2 separate regions of the Homo sapiens genome follow, and region 2 is linked to region 1. The links are contacts of gene promoters, found by promoter capture Hi-C in human tissues and cell types (Jung and others, 2019). All regions are on one chromosome and are shown on one strand. The core of a region is centred on a gene start or on the middle of the fragment in contact, and the rest is flanking DNA. Distances in the headings are between cores, read along the strand shown.

Region 1 (6,143 bases), core at 1,769-4,268:
TGGCAGAGGGTGAAGGAGGAGCAAAGTCACCTATTACATGGCGGCAGGCAACAGAGCATGTGCAGGGGAACTGCCCTTTATAAAACCATCAGATCTTGTGAGACTTATTCACTATCACAAGAACAGCACAGGAAAAACCCACCCCGATGATTCAGTTACCTTCCACCCGGTCCTTCCCACAACACATGGCAATTATGGGAGCTACAATTCAAGGTAAGATTTGGATGGGGACGTAGCCAAACCATATCAGAGGGCTTAAGTGACTTACCCTGGGTCACACAGCTAACAAATAGTAGAGATAGAATTCACACTCAGACACACTGCCCTGCCTGCTCTCCAAGGCTAGATCCACGAAATTTGTTTTGTCTGGTACCACGTGGACTTGACACTATAGGAAGGTTTTAATGGTAGAAGAAAAATGTCTGTAGAAGAGGAGGGAAAAGGAAGAAAAGGCTCTATGATCTGGAACTATTCAAATAAAAAAGATGGTGGAGCAATTGACCACAAGGCGCTAGAATGATGTGGCTGCTGAGGAAAGAAGGAAGGAAAGGGAAGAAAGCGAAAAAGTGAGACTGCATTATTCAAAGTCTAGTGCCCCGGCTGGGCATGGTGGCTCAAGCCTGTAATCCCAGCACTTTGGGAGGCCATGGCAGGTGGATCACATGAGGTCAGGAGTTCAAGACCAGCCTGGCCAACATGGTGAAACCCCGTCTCTACTAAAAATACGAAAAAATTCGCTGGTTGCGGTGGTGGATGCCTGTAATCCCAGCTCCTAGGGAGGCTGAGGCAGGAGAATCACTTGAACCTGGGAGGCAGAGGTTGCAGTGAGCTGAGATTGTGCCACTACACTCCAGCCTGGGTGACAGAGTAAGACCTTATCAAAAAAAAAAAAAAAAAAAAAAAACTCTATTGCCCCTGTAATTGTAGCTCATATTTATTGAGTACCTACATGTTGTCAGGGCTTTACATATATTAACTCATTTAATTCTCATAACCCTACATGGTAGGTACTATTATCCCTATTTTGTAGATGAGAGGAAACTCAGGCACAAAGACATATAAATTTCCCAAAGCGCACCAACTCTAAATGGCAGTGCTGGGCTATACAGACTTTACAGCACAGTGCCTCAAACTCTGCATTGCTCAAGGGGGCTTAATATGACCTGACATACTTCTGGGTTTTATCAGAGGGACTTCAAGAAATGTGAGCACTTCTACAGGGAGGTGGACTCAAGATAGTGATAAGATGAATAATATTTCTTGCGTACTGTCTATATGCAAAGCACTGTTTCACATGCTTTGTATATAGTAACTGCTTTAATCTTCACAACTATAGGAGATAGGTGCCATTATTATGCCCATTTTACAGATGAAGAGACTGAGGCAAGTCACAGAAAGAAAAAAGCCCAGTGAAATTCTTGTGTTTCTCCAGTAGAACAGCAGCGTTGAAGGAGCAACTTCCCTCCCACTTGACCTCTGAAGGGCTGCCCTAGGGGAAGAGAGAGGGACATGATGGCAGAGGTACCCATTGCTGGGGATACTTCTTGCTGGGGATTAGGGTCAGGATGCCCGCTCTGGGTCAGGGTTAGACTCAGTGACCCCTAAGGACCTTCTAGCTGTGAGACTCTGCCCACTGCTCTGGACAGAGGAGGAACTAGGGAAAGAAGTGAGACTAGGAAGAATCTTGATGCCAACTGTTTCCCCAGTGTCCAGTGAGCAAACTCCTGACTCCTAAAAGAGGAAGGAATAGACCATTCACTTTCTTTCATCTGCCTAGAACATGGGATCTTTTTTTAAAAAAATAGTTGGGTACATAGTAGGTGTATATATTTATGGGGTACATGAGGTGTTTTGATACAGGCATGTAATGTGAAATAAGCACATCATGGAGAATGGGGTATCCATCCCTTCAGGCACTAATCCTTTGAGTTACAAACAATCCAATTATACTTTTTAAGCTATTTAAAAATATACAATTAAGTTATTATGGACTATAGTCACCCTATTGTGCTGTCAAACAATAGGTCTTATTCATTCTTTCTAGCTATTTTTTTGTACCCATTAACCATCCCTATCCTCCCACTACCCTTCCCTGCTTCTGGTAACCACATGCTTCTACTATGTCCATGAGTTCAACTGTTTTGATTTTTAGATCTCACAAATAAGTAAGAACATGTGACGTTTGCTTCCTGTGCCTGGCTTATTTCATTTAATATAATGATTTCCAGTTCCATCCATGTTGTTGCAAATGACTGGATCTCATTCTTTTTTATGGCTGAATAGTACTCCATTTACATATATGTACCATATTTTCTTTATCCGTTCATCTGTTGATGGACACTTAGGTTGCTTCCAAATCTTAGCTATTGTAAACAGTGCTGCAAGAAAAACACAGGAGTGCAGATAGAACCTGGGATCTTTATTCATGTGGCGAAAATTTATGGTGGTGCCTGCTGGGTGCCTGACAGGGGCTGGAGATGAGTATTCTCCAATTCAGCTCAAGGAACCATTTGTTGAGCATCTACTATGGGCTGGGCTGAAACTTTGGTATCACATTTACTCCCCTCAAAATCATTTTACAAATGCAGAAACACACTCAGGCACAGGTATTATTATAAGAAACTTTTCCAAGGGTACCACCCGGTGAATGCCTGAACTGGTTAATTTCAAAGCCGTGGTCACCTAGCAGAACTTGTCCCCATTCTCCTGGGAGAGCCGGGAGCTGGTGGGGCTCCCCCCTGCCTCCCTCCCGAAGCCCTCCTGTTTTCACAGCTACCTCTCATCCCCTTCTCAGGAAGGCCCAGAGTGCTGGACCCCAGGCTAGGGTGGGCAAGGATGAGGAGTGGGGACAGAGGCTGGCATATGAGGCACGGGAGAGAGGTGGGGAATTACGGGACGCCGCTGCCAGGGCTGCAGTGGGAGGAGGGGTGTGTCCCCTACTTCGGAGGGGCGCTCGGGCTCTGTGGAGAGAGCGCCATGCGGGAGGCGGGCCCGGGGCGCCCTCGCTCGGCGGGCACAGGTGCGCGGGTGCCATGACGACTGCGCCTCACGAGCCCCCTCCTTCCCCTGGTCGGGAGGCGAGGGGCGGCGGGCGGCTGAGCCCTGCGGGCAGCAGCGCTGCGCGGGAGCCAGTCAGCCCGAGGGGAGGGAAACCGGCCAGGGCCCGGGGCCTGGGAGCGCACGCCCCCTGCTCACCTCTGCCCGGACCGACCGGACCTGCGGAGCGCGGAGGCAGGGGCGCAGCCCGCAACCAAGTGCCCGGAGACCGTCCCTCTGCCCGCTGGCCCGAAGGGGCCCGCTGCCTCCCGCCATCGGAGACCGCCGGAGCCCGCAACTGGGGGCATCATGGAGGGTGAGTGGTCCTGGGGCTGGGGGCCAGCCGTGGGGCAGGGTACCGACTCCGGGGCATGGGGCGAAGGGAGAGGAGAGGGCCGGGCAGCTGATCACCCATGGCTGTCCAGAGCCAGACGTTGTGACACTCTGTGTGTGACAGAGACAGAGACACTGAGTGAGGGAGAGAGACCTGGGGTGCCCATGTGTTCATGGTGTGTGTGTGTGTGCGTGTGTATGTGAGACAGAAAAACAGACAGACAGAAAGAGACAGATGGAGAGAAAGACCTGGGGGTGCTCTGTATTCATGTTGTGCCTGTGTGTGTGAAAGAGAGAGAGAGAGAGAGACAGAGACAGAGACATAGAGACAGACACTGAGAGAGGGAGACAGAGACAGGCAGAGAAACACTTGGGGGTGCCTCTGTATTCATGTTGTGCTTGTGTGTGTGTGTGAGAGAGAGAGAGAGAGTGAGAGAGAGAGAGAAAGACCTGGGGTGCCTCTGTATTTGTGTTGTACATATGTGTGTGCATGTACAAGACACACACACACACACACACAAAAAGAGAGAGTCCCTGTTGTGTGTGTGCACGCACACAATCCCTGCTGTCTGAGCAGAGAATCATTTGAGACCAGGTGAGGACAGCTTGGCTATTAGCTTCAGAAGAATTGTCACCGACTTTGTCTGCTTGAAGGGGTGGGGTTGTTGGGGAGATGGGATTCTAGAGGTGATATCCTCCATGTAGAGAGAATTTCTCTCCCTAAGGAAAGGAGAGTGAACTATGGACCTTACCTTCAGGATTTTAAGGGATAGCGGACCAAGGCATAAGGCTGCTTGCTCCCACTTTACCAGAACCCTCTCTCAGCCATTGTGGACAAGGGGAACCATATTTAGGCTAAGAAACTGGAAAACCAAGGGCTCGTCCACTGTCTTGCTGGGTGTCTTTGAGATAGTGCCTAAACCTTTCTGTGCCACTGGTCACCCATCTATCGAATGGGGGAACTTAACATTCAGCTGGCTTCAGAGAGTGTCTGTGAGGATAAAATAAGATATGTTGTACAACACGCCAGTATGAGGCAGCTGTGGCAAGAGGTAATAAAACCCCAAAATTCCAATTAGTAATTGCAAACACTGCTGTTAAAAAATAAAATCAAGTTTTATAGAAAATCTTGTGAGGCTGCACTTGTAGTTTTCCAATGAGCCAGGGTATGAAAAGCACACACACAAAAGAGGCAAGAAGGAATCAATAACCCAAGAGGAATCTGGAAGATTGGCAGATCTGTAAGAATGGCGTTAGCAAAGCCCTGAAGCTCCAGTGAACAGAAGTCGGGGGAAATTGGCAAAGACAAGAGCAAAAAGCTTTCAAAGTCTAAGAATAACAAGAAGGAATCTGCTCTGGCTTAGGCTCGAGGGCAGGCAGAGCAAGATACAGGCAATTTTACTTCAAATTGTGGAATAAAGAGGATAAGGAGGAAATAGAGACCCAAGATAGTCAAGCGATAGGAAGAAGACATCAAGTTACCTACAATGAGCTCACTCATTGAAGCCCAGACATATGACATCCCAGCGACCCAGAGGTATTTACAGATATAATCATTGCTTTTGAGGAAACTACAGAGAATGAAGGAAGTGCCAGAAAACTGAAGATGGGCAAATGTCCTGATTTTCAAAAAAGGGAAATATAAATTTTTTATCTAAAAAGCCTCTACACTGCTAAGATTAGTTTTGACCTCTATTAAAATTCCAGAAGAAATGACCAAACACAGTGTACACTTAGGAGACAACAACGCACTCCCTCAGCTCAGAATTTTTTCAAATTCTGAGCTGCACACTTGCAAAGATGTGTGCCTGAGCATGTTCATCACAGTGCAAAATTGGAAACCATCCAGATAGCCATAAATTATGTAAATTAAATAAAAAATGAGACACTTCTGCAATGGCATACTATGCAGACATTAAAAACTGTGCTTAGGATTTTCTTTATTGACATGGAAATATGTTCACTACCCACTGTGAGTAATTAGAAAAAAAAACAGGTTTTTGAATGCATGTGTAGTGTGATCCCCTTTATGCAAAATTACATAGGTTTATTATTGGAAATATACATATACAAGTGTATACGCAAAGAGGTAGTCACTAACATCTTTGTTTGATTCTCCTGCTTCTGAAAGCAGACCCTAAGACAAGAGCTTGGATATAGGGAGTCTATTTGGGAGATGATGCCGGGCAGTGGAAGTGAGGGAATGAGGAGAGTGAGATGAAGAAGGGAGAAAAGGCAAGAAATGGGTGCCTTAATGAGCTGGTTTTAGCTGTGGGCAACTGGGGGGTTCTATCCTGCTGGGGACACTCTGAGAAAAGTGCAGGGTGAACCCGAGGTTTACCCCACCTAAGAGGTGGCGTTGGCTGCTTCACCTCCCCACTGGTCTGGTATTGCCCCACTCCTGCAGTTTTGGGTTGTCCCTTTTTGTGACTTCAGAGGAAGCAGAGCAGAGAGACTCCCAGGTGCAGACCTGGTGGGGTGCTAAAAATTTGAGGAACCATTCACCCCAGCTGAAATCTTTGGGCCAATGGGATGTGGCAGGCAGAGAGCATCACAAACATAGGGGTTATCTCTGGATGTGAGGGTTCTGTCAGGTTTACTCTCTCTTTTGCGGTGCTCAGAATTCTTTGTTGTTGTTGTTGTTGTTGTTTGAGACGGAGTCTCGCCCTGTTGCCCAGGCTGGAGTGCAGTGGCGTGTTCTCGGCTCACTGCCACCTCTGTCTCCCAGGTTCAAGCAATTTTGTTGCCTCAACCTCCTGAGTAGCTGGGATTAC
Region 2 (6,143 bases), core at 2,653-5,152, 83 kb after region 1:
TGGCCAGGCTGGTCTTGAACTCCTGACCTTGTGATCCACCCACTTCAGCCTCCCGAAGTGTTGGGATTATGGGCATGAGCCACTGCACTGTCCAAGAGGCTTGAATTTGTTAGCATCTCAGCAGTAGAGCAAACCTTCTATTGTTCCTATATATTATAAATTACGTTTAGATCCTAAAATTTGGGATAGTCTTCAGATTCTCTTAAATTTTTGTCAGTATACCTTTTTAGCTTTTTAAAAAATGAGATTAGACTAATAGATTTTAATATTTTATATTTTAGTTACCACCACCCTGTGAATCTGCCTGCACAGTACCAACAGACGGTAAGATTTCTATTCCAGTAAAATTTCATTAAACATTACACAGTTATGGAAAAATTATGTTACTTTTATTTTTAGTTGACAAATGATAATTAAATATATTTATGGGTACAGTGTGATGTTTTGATATATGTTTACAATGTGGAATGATTAAATCTGGCTAATTACGAAATCATTACCTCACATACTTAATCATTATTTGTTGTGTGGTAAAAACATTTGAAATCTACTCTTAGCAATTTTGAAATAGATGTTACAGTCACCATCCTGTGCAATAGATCACTAAAGCTTATTCCTTTTGTCTAACTAAAACTTGGTACCCTTTGACCATCGCCTGCCCTTTCCCCATCCTTCAGCTCCTGGCAACCACCATTCTACTCTCTACCTCTATGAATTTACCTTTTTTATATTGCACATATAAATGAGATCATGTGGTATTTGTCTTTCTGTACCTGGCTTGTTTTTTGTTTTTTGACACAGAGTCACCCAGGCTGTCACTCTGTCACCCAGGCTGGAGTGCAGGGGCACAATCACAGCTCATTGTACCCGTAACCCCCCCAAGTTAAAGTGATTCTCCCATCTCAGCCTCCCAAATAGCTGGGACTGCAGACATGTGCCACCATACCTGTCTAATTTTTTTATAATTTGTAGAGATAGAGTTTCACCATGTTGCCCAAGCTGGTCTCAAACCAGGTCTCGAACCAGGCTGGTCTTGAACACTAATCAGGCCGGGTTTCGCCATGTCACCCAGGCTGGCGATCCACCTACCTTGTCCTCCCAAAGTGCTAGGATTACAGGCGTGAGCCACTGCACGCAGCCACGTACATATTTTTAACATACACAGGAAGAGAGGGAAGAAGGGTGAGAAGAGAAGCATTTTTAGAATTCTGTAGTGTACGTGGGAAGGAAGATGAGCTGCTACATACCACCTTTAGTGCCACACTGTATCACAGTGGTTTCCAAACCATGACCCATTGTGCCCCTCTGAGTTCCATGGAGGTGCCCGCTGGACACTGGAGGGGACCCTGAGTGGGCTGATCTCCACATTCCCACCTGGCCACAGGCTGCTTCACCCAGAAAACAGTTCTCTCCTCCTTAGATGTCAGAATTCTCTGTAAGATTTTTCTGGTAAGAAAATGATTCTGCCACTTAAAAAAACAAGTTTGAAGGCTGGGTGTGGTGGCTCACACCTGTCATCCCAGCACTTTGGGAGGCTGAGGCGGGCGGATCACTTGAGCCCAGGAGTTCGAGACCAGCCTGGCCAACATGGAGAAACCATGTCTCTACAAAAAAAAAATACAAAAATTTGCTAGATGTGGTGGCACACGTCTGTAATACCAGCTGCTGGGGAGACTGAGGCACGAGAATTGCTTGAACCTGGAAGATGGAGGTTGCAGTGAGCCATGATTGCTGCCACTGCACTGCAATCTGGGCAAGAGAGTGAGACCCTGTCTCGAAATTAAAAAAAAAAGTTTGAAAATCACACTATGCAATTAGCATGAAGTGTAAGGAAGCCCAAAAGAAAACACCTGCATTTGCTGTAGAGAAATTTTGTATGTATGCCTGTTAATTTTCAGGTAATTCATAGTAGGATTCATTAAAGCAAGTATATTAGTCTTTGTTATATGTTAGGTGTATTTTTGATTCTCAACAGGAATTCTAATTTGTTTTTCTTTTCTCTGAATACAGTGGATAAGTGGTTCCATCACCAGAAAAACTAATGAGATTTCTCTGGAATACAAGCTGATATTGCTACATCGTGTTCATCTGGATGTATTAGAAGTAAAAGTAGTAGCTTTTCAAAGCTTTAAATTTGTAGAACTCATCTAACTAAAGTAAATTCTGCTGTGACTAATCCAATATACTCAGAATGTTATCCATCTAAAGCATTTTTCATATCTCAACTAAGATAACTTTTAGCACATGCTTAAATATCAAAGCAGTTGTCATTTGGAAGTCACTTGTGAATAGATGTGCAAGGGGAGCACATATTGGATGTATATGTTACCATATGTTAGGAAATAAAATTATTTTGCTGAAACTTGGCTTAGGATATTTTTATTTTAATCTGAAGCCAACATTAAGTAGGTATGGGTATTTTTTGGTGTTTGTTTTCTGTTGATAGTCTTATAATTCAAATTTATAATTATTAGACGAAGAAATCGCTTATATTTATAGTACTCTTGATACTATGCTCTAGTACATAAGTCCTAGCATACCATTCTAAAGCAAAAGTTTTTAAATTTATATCATATTAGCAGAAAGCACAATGTTGCTCACCCTTTGAAGTTATATATTAATAGTTATTTTTTTACTTCTTCAGTCAACTAATTGGACGCTTAAGTCATTTATATTATATTCTAAGTTATCAGCTGAACAAACCAGTTTGAATGCCAGCCCATCTTCTTACTAGCTCTGTAATCTTAAGTCAGTTTACCAACCACTCAACTTCAGTTCCTTCATCTGTGAAACAGACATTATTCATGTAATGGCATGTAGTATGCATTCAGATTCTTTTTTTTTTTTTTGAAACAGGGTCTCACTGTCGCCCAGGCTGGAGTGCAGTGGTGTGATCTCGGCCCACTTCAACCTCTGCCTCCTGGGTTCAAGTGATTCTCCTGCCTCAGCCTCCCAAGTAGCTGGGAGTACAGGCATGCACCACAATGCCTGACTAATTCTGGTATTTTTAGTAGAGACGGGGTTCACCACGTTGGCCGGGCTGCTCTCGAACTCCTGTCCTCAAGTGATCCACCCACCTCAGCCTCCCAAAGTGCTGGGATTAGAGGTGTGAGCCACTGTGCCCAGCCCATTCAGATTTTTTTAATGAAAATTTTATTGAGATGAATATAGATTCACATGTAGTTCTAAAAAAGTAATTCAGAGATAATTCAAATAATTCTGTATACCTTACCCTGTTTCTCCTAAAAGTAAGATTTTGTAAAACTATAGTATAACAACCAGGACATTGACTTTGATATAATCCACCAATCATATACAGACTCCAAATCCACCAATCATATTCAGACTTCCTAGTTTCACTGTATTAATGAATATTTGTATGATGTATTCTATATAATTTATAATTCTATAGTGTAATCACCTAGGTAAGTTTATGTATCCTATAAGATATTGAACAGTTTCAACACCACAAGATCTCTCGTGTTGCCCTTTTATAATCACACCCACCTCCCCCCTGTCTTCTGCACACCACCATCCGTAACCCCTGGCAACCACTAATCTGTCCTCCATTTTTCTATGATTTTGTCATTTCAAGAATATTATATAAATGGAATCATACAGTATGTAACCTTTCAGGATTGGCTTTTCACTCAGTGTAATTCCCCGGTATTCCTTCAAGTTGCCACATATATCAATGTTTCATTCTTTTTATTCATTCCTTTTTATTGCTGAGTACTTTCCATGATATGTTTTGTTTTACCTGTTGAAGGACATCTGGGCTGATCCAGTGTTTGGCTATTACAGATACAGCTGCAATGAACATATTTGTACATGTTTTCACGTCAACATAAAACATTTTCATTTCTCTCAGATCTCTAGCAGTGTAATTGCTGAGTCACATGATAGATGCATGTTTTATTAGAAGGTACCAAATTTTCTAGAGTTATGGTCACATTTTACATTCCCAACAGCAATGTTGGAGTGATTCAATTTTTCCACATCCTTGCCAGCATTTGGTTTGCCTTTTTTTTTTTTTTTTTGAGACAGGGTCTCACTGTCACCCAGGCTGGAATGCAGTGGCACAATCTTGGCTTACTGCAACCTCCACCTCCCAGGCTCAAGCAATCCTCCTGCCTCAGTTTCCCAAGTAGCTGGGAATACAGTTGTGTGCCATAATGCCCAGCTAATTTTTGTAGAGATGAGGTTTCACCATGTTGCCCAGGCTGGTCTCGAACTCCTGGGCTCAAGTGACCCGCCCGCCTCGGCCTTCCAAAGTGCTGCTGGAATTACAAGTGTGAGCTGCCCTGCCTGGCCTACTATATTTTATTTTAGCCATTCTGTTGGGTGTGTAGTAGTATCTCATGGTAGTTTTAATTTGCATTTCTCTAATAGCTAATGATGTTAAACATCTTTTCATGTGCTTGTTTGCCACCTGTATATCCTGTTTGGTGAAATGTCTGTTCATGTCATTTACTCATTTTAAAATTGTTTAGTTTCATTTTTAATGTTAAGTTTTGGAGTCCTTCAGAGTTCAGATATTTGGTTTGCAAACATTTTTTTCCCAGTTGGCAACTTGTTCTTTCATTTTTTTCACATACTCTTTCACAGAGCAAAATCTTTTAATTTTTAAAAAGACCAACTTACCACATTTTCCTTTTATGGTCATTCTTTAGGTATCAAGTTAGAACTTTTCCTAGCCCTAGATCACAATATTTTCTCCTGTGTTTTTCTCTAAAAGTTTTATAGCTTACATTTAAGCCTATGATTCATTTTGTGTTTATTTTTATATAAGGTTTATGGTTTAGGTATGGGTTCATTTTTTCCTATGGATGTCCGGTTGCTCCAACGCCATTTTTTTGAAAGCTTATTCTTCCATTGAATTGTTTTGCACGCTTGTCAAATATCCATTGAGCATATCTGTGTGGGCCTATTTCTGGGTCCTCTGTTACATTCCATTGATCTGTATGTCTGACCGTCTGCCGATACCACACTCTCTTGATGACTATAGTTACATGGTAAGCCTTAAAATCAAATAGATTCTTCCCACTTTATTCTTCTTTGTCAAGATTGTATAACTAGGGCCTGTGCATCTTCATATGTATTTTAGAATAAGTTTTGGCTATGTCTATTGTCTATGCCTGTAAAAAATCGTACTGGGATTTTAGTAGGCATTGCATTAAATCTATAGATCAATTCTAGTCATGTGTTTAGACATCTCCTAATGTGTTTCTGTTACTAATTTCTAGTTTGGCTCCATTGTGGTCAGAGAACATGCTGTCATTTTGATTCTTTTATTGAGGTTGTTTGATGGTCTGTCCAGAGTGTTTCATGGGTGCGTGTGTTTTGTTATTGTTGGGTGGAGTGTTCTGTTTATGTCAGTGAGATCCTGTTGGTTTATGTATTGTTCTGATCTTCTATACCCTTGCTGATTTTCTCTCTAGTAGTTCTATCAATTACTGAAATGGAGGTTTTGAATTCCCTGATTATAACCATAGAGGCCTTTGAACTTTTAGCTCTATCAGTTTTTGTTTAATGTATTTTGAGGCTCTGTTGTTTGGTGAGTACATTTTAGGATCCTATATATTCTGGTGGATTGAACTTTCTGTTATTACATATGTCCCTGTTTGTCACTAGTAATTTTCTTTGCTCTGAAGTCTACTTTATCAGATATTAATATAGCTACTCCTGCATTTTTAAAAAATAACTAATGTTTGTATGGTATATTTTGTTCTATTCTTTTACTTTCAACCTATTTATGTTGAATTTGAAGTGAGTTTCTTATAAGCAGCATAAAGATGTCTTTATTTTTATTTTTATTTTTTAATCCACACTGCCTCCTTTGCCCTAGAAGTACTCACAGCGGCGGGAGACTTCTGGCCTTTTCCTGAGCAGTGCTTCCTTTTAGTCCAACATCTCAGTAAAGCTGCAGAGGTCGCCACTGCACTCTGAGCTTTGCAATGCCTCCCAAAGACCACAAGAAGAAGAAAGATGCCAGAAAGTCAACCAAGAAAAAGACCCAGTGAACAGATCTGGGGCCAAGGCTGAAAAGAAGTAGTCCAAAGGCAAAGTTCGGGACAAGCTCAATAACCTAGTCTTGTTTGACAAAGCTACCTATGACAACCTATAAGGAAGATCCCAACTAT

What was found. The method cuts DNA at HindIII sites, captures the fragments that hold promoters and counts their contacts. A contact is called where the count stands out against the background at its distance.
Region 2: a fragment that was not itself captured here is called in contact with the fragment with the promoter of NPFFR1 in region 1 in 6 of the 25 tissues and cell types used here (IMR-90 fibroblasts, hippocampus, lymphoblastoid cells and 3 more).

Annotation. Positions count from the first base shown.
Region 1 is chr10:70,280,879-70,287,021 of GRCh38, reverse strand. NPFFR1 (neuropeptide FF receptor 1) reads left to right here and starts at 3,018. Exons shown (of 4, transcript NM_022146.5): 1 at 3,018-3,352. The coding sequence starts at 3,346. RefSeq lists an enhancer at 3,310-3,811. The HindIII fragment of the contact is 15,240 bases long and covers 1-6,143 here.
Region 2 is chr10:70,199,054-70,205,196 of GRCh38, reverse strand. It overlaps PPA1 (inorganic pyrophosphatase 1), which reads left to right. Exons shown (of 11, transcript NM_021129.4): 10 at 282-324; 11 at 2,011-2,362. The coding sequence ends at 2,042. It also overlaps the pseudogene RPS25P9. Among named protein-coding and RNA genes, the nearest start is that of PPA1, 31 kb to the left of the region's middle. The HindIII fragment of the contact is 5,068 bases long and covers 1,369-6,143 here.